Linked DNA regions of Homo sapiens: region 1 is linked to region 2. Evidence: promoter capture Hi-C in human tissues and cell types (Jung and others, 2019). All regions are on one chromosome and are shown on one strand. The core of a region is centred on a gene start or on the middle of the fragment in contact, and the rest is flanking DNA. Distances in the headings are between cores, read along the strand shown.

Region 1 (5,177 bases), core at 609-3,108, 710 kb after region 2:
GTGCAAGATGGCAAATGGTACTTGCCATGTGACTACTTTTGCTTTGTCTTTGGCCTCCTTGCTTTCATTTCCCCCAAGCTTCTCTCCCTGTTTAATCTCCAAGGCTGAATCCTGTCTCTCCAAAGATCCTGAAAGAGCATCTCCTTCAAAGTTTGCCTACTGGGGACAGGCATGCTGAATCTAGCTTGCAGAAATGTCTACTTCTGGGGCATAGTAGCGCATACCTATAATCCTAACACTTCGGGAGGCCGAGGTAAGGGAATCACCTGAGCCCAGGAGATTGAGGCTGCAGTGAGCTGTGATCATGCCACTGCGCTCCAGCTGGGCAACAGTGAGACCCTGTCTCAAAAAACAATCAAACAAAAAAACCTATGTGTATATATAGTATGTGTGTATATATATATAGTACATATATACACATATATAGTATGTGTGTATATATATATAGTACATATATACACATATATAGTATGTGTGTGTATATATATATATATATATATATATATATAGTATGTGTGTGTATATATATGTAGTTGCCAACAACTAGAAAATGCAGATTTCCATTTCTTTTGGAGAGGTCTCTATTCCTTCATGCCAGCAATCAACCAGAGCTCAGTAATGCCTCCTGTAGACATTTCCCAGTCTGCCCCAATGCCCAACACTCCTTTTTGTTTCCCTGACACAGGAGCCAAGTGACAGTTATCCTTATATTATTATTTTTCTTTTTTTTTTTTTTTTTTTGAGACAGAGTCTCACTCGTCACACAGGCTAGAGTGCAGTGGCATGATTTCGGCTCACTGCAACCTCTGCTTCCTGGGTTCAAGCGATTCTGTTGCCTCAGCCTCCCGAGTAGCTGGGATTACAGGTGCCTGTCACCATGCCTGGCTAAGTTTTGTATTTTTAGTAGAGAACGGAGTTTTATCATATTGGTCAGGCTGGTCTCAAACTCCTGACCTCAGGTGATCCACCCACCTTGGCCACTCAAAGTGCTGGGATTACTCAAAGCAAGTGTGAGCCACCATGCCCAGCCTATTTTTCTTATAGTAGCATTGAGACATCTCTTTTTTAGAGACATGGTCTTGCTATGTTGCCCAGGCTGGTCTCAAATGCCTGGCCTCAGGAGATCCTCCTGCCTCAACCTTGGAAGTAGCTGGGATTACAACCATGAGCCGCTGTGCCCAGCTCAAGAGAGGTGACATTTTCTTAAACGCAGCCCACTTCTTTCATTTAAACTATATGCCTGACCCTATAGACATCTGAATTTATACCAGTTCTGCTCTAGTATCTCTGGCCTCCAAGCAGTTTCAAGTGAAAACAAAAGCTACTTCCACCAGGGCTGAGCAGAAAGCTTTTTTTTTTTTTTTTTTTTGAGACAGAGTCTTGCTCTGTCACCCAGGCTGGAGTGCAATGGCACGATCCCAGCTCACTGCAACCTCCACCTCCCAGGTTCCAGCTATTCTTCTGCCTCAGCCTCCCAAATAGCTGGGATTACAGGCACCTGTCACCATGCCGGCCTAATTATTTTTGCATTTTTAGTAGAGACGGGGTTTTGCCATGTTGGCCAGGCTGGTTTCAAATTCCTGAACTCAGGTGATCCGCCCACCTCGGCCTCCCAAAGTGTTGGGATTACAGGCGTGAGCCACCACGCCCAGCCAGAAAGCATTTTAATTCCCTGGTTTTCAGAATAAGAATTAAATCTGACCCAGGTGATGCTGGGACCCCCCCCCCCACCCCCCGCTCAGACTTTTCAGATGTGGACTTTATTTGGTTCTACAAGACTTCTCTTAACAGTCTTAGCAACCACTCCCTGCTCACCTGGTAGTTCCCACCTATTGTCTTGCGTAACAATTTTGTTGGTGCCAACACCAAAAGCAGTCTTGTAGCCTTGAGGAATAAAAGGAGGAAAGGCAAAAGACATGGCCTAAGGAGAATACAAAGGAGTGAGGGGAGCTGCTGGTGGCATCCTGAAATATACATACATCATGGTGTAAGGGCCTCTGCCGTCAGCTACAGGTGACTAAGCCACTTATTAAGAGGCAGCTGCAGTGTAGTAGCTAAGAACTCAGATTTCGAAGTCTCTGTCTGGATTTAAATCCCAGCTCTGCCACTTCCTAGTTGTCTGAACTCAGGCAGTTTATTTAACCTCCTGCCTTAGTTTCCTCATCTGTAAAGTGGCTTCTCCCAGTTATGGAGATTAAATGAGTTTACTCATTTGACTTAATGCAACACAAAGTTCTTAGAACAGTGCCTGGCACATAGAAGGTACCCACAAAGTGCTCTCTACCATTACCAGCTGTGTAACCCTGGACTGTGAACTTCCTGATGGAAGAGGCTGTGTCTCTGCATTCTCAGCTCCTAGCAGTGTCTAGAAAAGATACTAAAAATGAGATGTTCATATGCTCCTTGAATTAATGGGCTGGAAGAATGAATAAATGCATGAACTAATTAAGCTTCTCCAAGGTTCATTTTCCTTAGCTATATAACAGAAGTGTTGTTGTGAGCATTAGGTAAGTAACATTTGTTATTTACATTGTTAAAACATCAACCTTGGGTCCTTCTCATATAGCTGGCACTTAAAATGCTTGTTTCATTCACTTACAATAGACTATTGAAAACCCACTTACCAAGTAGCAGACATTACACTAAAGCATTTATAAACATAATGTCTCATCCTCATAATAACCTATCATGGATACTCTTTCCTCTATTACAGATGAGAAGACTGAGACAGAGAGACTAAGGTAAGAGGCACAGCTGGGGTTGGAAGACATGTCCATCTGACCCCACAGCCTGTCTCTCCATGCTCCCCTCACTGCCTTTTCCTCTCGGCAGGCCATCCATAAATAGTGTGACCATAAACTAAAGTAACTGATCTCCTAACTCCCAAAAGCAATCTTAGTGACTTTAGTCTCTTAAGAGTCAGTTGGGGACAGGCACGATGGCTCATGCCTGTAATCTCAGCACTTTCGGAGGCCAAGGTGGGCAGAGCACTTGAGCCAGGGGTTTGACACCAGCCTGGACAACATGGTGAAACCCCACTCTACCAATAAATAAATAAATAAATAAGCCAGGTGTGGTGGCGTGTGCCTGTAGTCCCAGCTACTCAGGAGGCTGAGGTGGGAGGATCACTTTAGCCCGGGAGGCTGAGGTTGCAGCGAGTAGAGATCACACAACTGCACTCCAGCCTGGGAGACAGAACTAGACCTTGCCTCAAAAACAAAAAGAAAAAGAAAAAGAGAAAAATAATCAGTTGGTCCCACATCATTTTCCTTAAAGTCAACTGCTTTAAATTCCCATCTCCAACAAGGGCTTGGATCTCTCCAGATTTGCCATAACCTGGTAACAGCTGTATTGTTTCTACTTGTATTTATTTTCACTCTCTTTCCCTTCTTTTCTCCAATGTCCACATTGTACCAGGGCTCCTATTAAGGGTGTAATTAGAATATTTTCTAAGCTTCTATGGAATTCCTGAATGTTAGAGCTGGGAGGAATCTTTTTAGAGGAGGTTTTGAACTCTCTGCCCTCTGCCAGTCTGTGCTAGGGGAGGGGACTTGTACCCAGCCAGAGAGCAAGAAATCAGAAGCACCATCAAAACCCCAGCTTCCTGGTCCCCAAGTTATCTTCCCATTATGCTGGGTTAGTGGACAGACAAAGTGGACTAAGTGCTTTAGAGAGTTTTTAAAAGACTAAGGCTGGGTGCGGTGGCTCACGCCTGTAATTCCAGCACTTTGGGAGGCCAAGGCAGGTGGGTTACTTGAGGTCAGGAGTTGGAGACCAAGTTGGCAAACATGGTGAAACCCCGTCTCTACTAAAAATACAAAAATTAGCTGGGCATGGTGGCAGGCGCCTGTAATCCCAGCTACTCGGTAGGCTGGGGCAGGAGAATCGCTTGAACCTGGGAGGCGGACGTTGCAGTGAGCCCAGATCGCACCACTGCCCTCCAGTCTGGGTGACAGAGGGAGACAGTGTCTCAAAAAAAAAAAAAAAAAAAAAAAGACTAAGAGCTGTACTACCAATGTAACAAACACAGTAAATAGCAAAATAGCATCTTCAGTTTTTCTTAATGACACAAGAAAGAGCATTGTGTCATTAAGGAAGGGTATTAGTCCACCTTTCCAAGTAGGATATAGTTAAGACACTGAAAAAATTCTCATGTTTCCTTCCATTTTAGTATAGGGTTTGATCTTGAGATCTTCCAAGCCAGAGGCTGTCAACAAGATCCTGGTTAGACAGCACGAAAATGTCCTACATTGGCCACCAGGGGGAGGGAATGAGCACTGGGACGGGTCCACTGGGACGGGTCCATTGCGGGTTATTTGGAAAAAACTCAGAGGAGGGTCCCTGTCTTATTTCCACTTCTGAAGGACTATACCTGTTGACTACTCTCCTCTTCCCTGGAGGTGTTGCAGAGGGTGGAAAATGTTTAGTGCTTTCTTTTATCTTTCTTTCTTTCTTTCAAACTCCAGCCTGTTGCCCAGGCTGGAGTGCAATGGCACGATCTCAGCTCACCGCAACCTCTGCCTCCTGGATTCAAGTGATTCTCCCGCCTTAGCTTCCCGGGAGCTGGGACTACAGGCATGCACCACCACGCCTGGCTAATTTTGTATTTTTAGTAGAGATGGGGTTTCTCCATGTTGGTCAGGCTGGTCTCAAACTCCCAACCTCAGGTTATCAGCCCACCTCAGCCTCCCAAAGTGCTGGGATTACAAGCATGAGCCACCGCGCCCAGCAGTTTAGTGATTTCTTTTGCAAAACTGAATGAACACGGGCATCCTATAAATGATAGAAAACAATAATTTGGTGGTTGACTAAGAGAACCCTGGGAGAACATATTTCAAGTTGTAGCCAAGTTTTTTCATCTCTGACCTTCATCACCTGGACTTTTTTTCTAGTCTATAGGAATATATAGAGCACTGAAAGTTTCGCCTATTGTGTCTGTCTGTGAAGTCCCTCTCTTTCACCAGATAATAGGTTTTCCTTCACGTACCTCCTTTTCATCTTTTGGTCCTCATTTCCCTACTGGAAGCATCCCTCTGAAGGCCTCCAGTGGTTCTTGGAAAATGTCAAATTGGATGGGGGAAGAAAAGATGTGGAGGTAAGACCTCTGGATCTTGCTTTCAGCTTTGCCCCTCCAACTCAGTATGTCATAAAAATCCAAGCAATTATTTCCTCTCCCA
Region 2 (5,150 bases), core at 1,380-3,879:
TTGCTAGATAAACCACTAGAGGATGCCAAAATTTAATGAATTATTTTCAAATGGTGTGAACAACAAAGAGAAACATTTTCCTAGTCCTTAAAATGGGCACAAGAATGAGTGCTATCTTTCTTTAGAGGTATAGTTTGTAAGTTATAGGTATCCTGTATTCAGAAATGCAGAAGACCAGGGTAACTTACTTACCACTAGGCTTCTATTTACATTCAAAACTATTTATTTCACACACCATCTATCTACCTATCATCTATCTTTTCTTTTTTTTGAGACAGAGTCTCGCTCTGTTGCCCGGGCTGGAGTGCAGTGGTGCAGATCTCGGCTCACTGCAACCTCTGCCTCCCGGGTTCAAGCGATTCTCCTGCCTCAGCCTCCCGAGTAGCTGGGACTACAGGCATGCGCCACTAGGCCCAGCTAATTTTGTATTTTTAGTAGAGACAGGGTTTCACCATGTTGGTTGGCCAGGATGGTCTCGATCTCTTGACCTCATGATCCGCCCACCTCAGACTCCCAAAGTGCTGGGATGACAGGCTTGAGCCACTGCGCCCGACCCTACTATTTATTTTTTTAATGAGAAACAATTTAGGATACAGCAGCCATTGAAGAAAAATATCACCACAGGGAAAACCGTAAACGACTTCAGGTCCTCCACTCCCGTGAAGCTTCATTAAGGTGCCACCGGTTTCAATACAAGTGCTTTTCAATCACACCACTTTCATATAAAAGTCTATAAGGCACCTAGGGAGGAACACCGGCATTAATTTCCCCATTGTATTCCTGAATCTATTCCAAAGCCTTGGACCTTTCACAATCTTTCCAAACTGCTGATGTGACTCTTAACACAATTGAGGAGGCTACTTTACCCTGGGCTAGGGGTTCTAGTATATAACTGATTATAGCTGAACTTTTTGTAAATTCCACCTCAATTGCGTTAAACCAACACGTCTAAATGTAACACCAATTTATGAAAAACCCTCATTTGAAACTTTGAAAAAGAGGTAAAATATGGCCAGGCGCAGTGGCTCACGCCTATAATCCCAGCACTTTGGGAGGCCGACGCGGGAGGATCACGAGGTCAGGAGTTCGAGACCAGCGTGACCAGTACGGTGAAACCCCGTCTCTACTAAAAATACAAAAATTAGCCGGGCGTGGTGGCGTGTGCCTGTAATCCCAGCTAGTCGGGAGGCTGAGGCAAGAGAATCGCATGAATCCGGGAGGTGGAGGTTGCAGTGAGCCAAGATCGCACCACTGCACTCCAGCCTGGGCAACAGAGGAAGACTCTTCTCAAAAAAAAAAAAAAAAAGAGGTAAAATATAGCTCACTCTATTCAAATTTTCCAACAAGGAAAAGCTGGCTAAAAACAGAAGGGCCCACGAAACAAATATTACCTCACAATCTCACATAATTTTCCTATGTCTCCCAATTTCTCGCACCTCACACGATCTCACAATCTCTCACTACCTCACGCCGTTCCTCAACTATTAACTCATCTACATATTTTTACAATTTCATCACCTTTGTGAGACCAGTTACGATCCCACACAAAAACGTACGGAACTAATTTTGAATCAAAGCAAGAACTGCACTTGGACTTTTTTAACTCCCCAAAGGAATCATGGAGTGAAGGTAGTAGGAAACCTGGAAAACTGAAAAAAGCGTATTCCATCCTTTCTTCGCACATTATTCTTACAGCCTCCCCACTGTAAGGACCCATCAGGATGCAAGGGCGGCCTGCTTTCCCCTTTTTTCTTACATACCTTATAGAAATATTCTCGGGATCTCCGCCCTACTTATCCTAACAGCTCCTCCCCTTCCAGAGTCAGGCCCAGCAAACGCCTGCCCCTCCCCCTCCGTGTCCCCTTTCCCAATTTATTCCACACATCTCCTCCTCCAATCAGCACACCTTGTGCGGCCCTGGGCCCTCTTCCAATTCACTCGACGTTACTCCTCCGTAGTCCTGCAAAGCCAGGTTCCTCTGGCAGTCCCAGCCGGACCCGGCGTCTTCCGAATACAGTTACAAACCTCGGGTTGTGCGGTCGTATGCGCCTCCTCACGCCTATCCAAGCCTCAAGCCTGTCCCCTTCCGCCCTATCCCGCAGCCGCCCAGCCAAGCAACATTGTTCCAGACCACCCGGGCCCCGAAGAGCGGCCCCCAAGTGCTCGGCCCACCCCCAAGCACTCAGTCTCTGGCTCAGGATTCGCGCCCCGCCCTCTCCATCCTTCACGCAGCTGGCACCGACGCCTCAGCGACAGGCGAAGAGCTCAGCGCGGGAAGCGGAGAAGCAGGACGCTGGACCCGGGCGCGCTCCCCGCTCCTAACCTCCGCCTCGAAAGCGCGTTCCCTCACGCAGGGCTCCCGCCGCCGCCGCCGCCGCGCCCCCTCCCCCAGCTCTCCCGCCTCCAGCGGGCTCCTCACCTCAGAGCAGCGCCCAAGAGCCCGAGAGGAATCGGTGCTGCGCTGCTGGCGCGTCGCGTCGGGTCGCCTGGGGGAGTGGCGCCCAGGAAGGCAGCAAGCCGGGTGGCCGCAGTGGCGTCCCTCACTGAAGCGGCGTACCGCAGGCCCCGGCCAACGGCCCTCCCCTCAGCCGAACAAAAGAGCCTCGCAGTCTGCGCTGCCCGCCGCTCGCACCGCGCAGGCGCAACGACCCGCCGCACGGCACCATGGGCCTCGGGGGTCTGTCCAAGACTACAAGGCCCGAAGCGCCGCGCGCCGCGCACGCACAGTAGGCGAGGGTGGTAGGGACTTATAGTTTTTAAACTGTAACGGTGGAGAGATTGCAGCGTAGAGCGTTGTAACCTAGAATATTAGAACATATGGGCCAGGGGCAGTCGCTCACGCCTGTCATCCCAGCACTTTGGGAGGCCGAGGCGGGTGGATCACCTGAGGTCAGGGGTTCGAGACCAGTCTTACCAACAAGGTGAAACCCTGTCTCTACTAAAAATGCAAAAATTAGCCGAGCGTGGTGGCAGGTGCCTGTAGTCCCAGCTACTCAGGAGGCTGAGACAAGAATTGCTTGAACTTGGGAGGCGGAGCTTGCAGTGAGCCGAGATCCAGCCACTGCGATCCAGCCTGGGCGATGGAGCGAGACTCCATCTCAAAAAAAAAAAAAAAAAAAAATTAGAACATATGATTTTTATAAGCGAGCCCCCTGATGCTTGGCCCCCAAAAAATCAACCACTTCTGGACAGTTCTGTAATTCACATCCTCAAAATTTTTGAATCTTAGATTCTTCACCAGAACTTTATCATATCGCCGCTGCCTCAAATTTCCAATGATTTCTTAGTCCTCAATCTCTGCCTCCTCAAATCTCTGTAAAATTCCTACTCACGCCGGCACGGTGGCTCAAGCCTATAATCCCAACACTTGGGGAGGCGGAGGTGGGTGGATCACTTGAGGTCAGGGTTTCAAGACCAGCCTGGCCAACATGGTGAAACCCCATCTCTACTAAAATACAAAAATTAGCTGGGCGTCGTGGCGGGCGCCTGTAGTGCCAGCTACTCGGGAGGCTGAGGGAGGAGAATCGCTTGAACCCAGGAGGTGGAGGTTACAGTGAGCCGAGATCGCGCCATTGCACTCCAGCCTGGGCAACAAGAGCGAAACTTCGTCTAAAAAAAAAAATACTGTTCAGTGTTAAGATTACTTCCCCTTTGAGGTCTTCCCTGATTCCCTAGAGTAGGTTAGGTCCCCCCATAGGCCTCTCATAGCTTCCTGAATTTCCCCCTTTTCACTGGCTGCGCCACAAAAATGTCCTCTTTTTCATTGTAAGTTGTGCTCACCTTTTTCAGTGTCATTAATCTCCGTCAGCACCTTTCACCCAATCATCCCAAGGAAACACACAATTAGGAAAAAAACATGTTTTTAAGCCACAATATAACTAAAGTTTTATTTTTTTATTTTAAAGTATCCTTCTAATCAGGAGGAAGAGGGAAACTCTATTGCACTCTACCCCAAAAGGCAAGAGTTTGCATTTATAAGACAGTTTTGCTGATGCAGGCACTGTTCAGGGCAGGAGTTTGCATTTATAAGACAGTTTTGCTGATGCAGGCACTGTTCACGGCTCTGGAGAACTGTCATGTAAGAAAAACCCAGCCCAGCAATATCATAATAGAGTTTAGTTAAAAGGGCTTCAAGAAAGCACAGAGAAGATGAGAGGTGAAGCCAGCTGGACTTCCTGGGTCGAGTGGGGACTTGGAGAACTTTTCTGTCTTACAAGAGGATTGTGAAATGCACCAATCAGCGCTCTATACCTAGCAAGGGGATTGTAAAATATACCAATCAGCACTCTGTAAAAACACACCAATCAGCCCTCTGTAGCTAGCAAGAGGATTGTAAAATGCACCAATCAGCACTCTGCAAAATGCACCAATCAGCGCTCTGTAAAATGCAGGAATCTAAAAGTAGCCAATCACAGGGAGGATTGAAAAAAGGGCACTCTGATAGGACAGAAATAGCAAATGGGCAGGGACAAACAAGGGTGTAAAAGCTGGCCCCCTGCCCCCCACCCATTCCTGTTAGCCCGCAGCAGCAACCTGCTCAGGTCGGTTTCCACGCTATGGAAGCCTTGTTCTTTCGCGTTCTTTCGCTCTTCACAACAAATCTTGCTGCTGCTCACTCTTTGGGTCCCTGCCAGCTTTAAGAGCTGTTTTTAACACCATGAAGGTCCGCGGCTTCATTGTTTAAGTCAGGGAGACCACAAACCCACCGGAAGGAATCAACTCCGGACACAAAGAGAGCAATTCTTCCTGAAACATTTGGGCTGGGTTTCTAGGAAGAAGCAAGTGAGAAGCAAGCATCTCCTCACTTCCTCCTGTAGTGTACTGTTTTTGACTGATGATGATGAGAAAATTAGTTGTAATGATAATTAGCTACTATTAATGAGTGCTTTTTTTGTTTTTTTTCCCTGAGGTGGAGTCTTGCACTGTCGCCCAGGCTGGAGTGCAATGGCAAGATCACGGCTCACTGCAACCTCCGCCTCCCGGGTTCATGCACTTCTCCTGCCTCAGCCTCCCAAGTAACTGGGATTACAAGTGCATGCCACCATGCACAGCTAATTTTTTTGTATTTTAGTAGAGACGGGGGTTTCACCATGTTGCCCAGGCTGGTCTTGAACTCCTGAGTTCAGGCATCCACCCGCCCAAAGTGCTAA

The links. The method cuts DNA at HindIII sites, captures the fragments that hold promoters and counts their contacts. A contact is called where the count stands out against the background at its distance.
Region 1: a fragment that was not itself captured here is called in contact with the fragment with the promoter of CBX1 in region 2 in 2 of the 25 tissues and cell types used here (IMR-90 fibroblasts and lymphoblastoid cells).

The regions. Positions count from the first base shown.
Region 1 is chr17:48,810,347-48,815,523 of GRCh38, forward strand. The region is part of intron 1 of TTLL6 (tubulin tyrosine ligase like 6); the gene reads right to left. It overlaps LOC105371813 (a long non-coding RNA gene), which reads left to right and starts at 1,894. Exons shown (of 4, transcript XR_001752926.1): 1 at 1,894-2,013; 2 at 2,714-2,741. The HindIII fragment of the contact is 4,960 bases long and covers 1-4,338 here.
Region 2 is chr17:48,098,849-48,103,998 of GRCh38, forward strand. CBX1 (chromobox 1) reads right to left here and starts at 2,630. Exons shown (of 5, transcript NM_001127228.2): 1 at 2,420-2,630. RefSeq lists enhancers at 2,363-2,962, 2,789-3,048 and a silencer at 2,369-2,418. The HindIII fragment of the contact is 10,755 bases long and covers 1-5,150 here.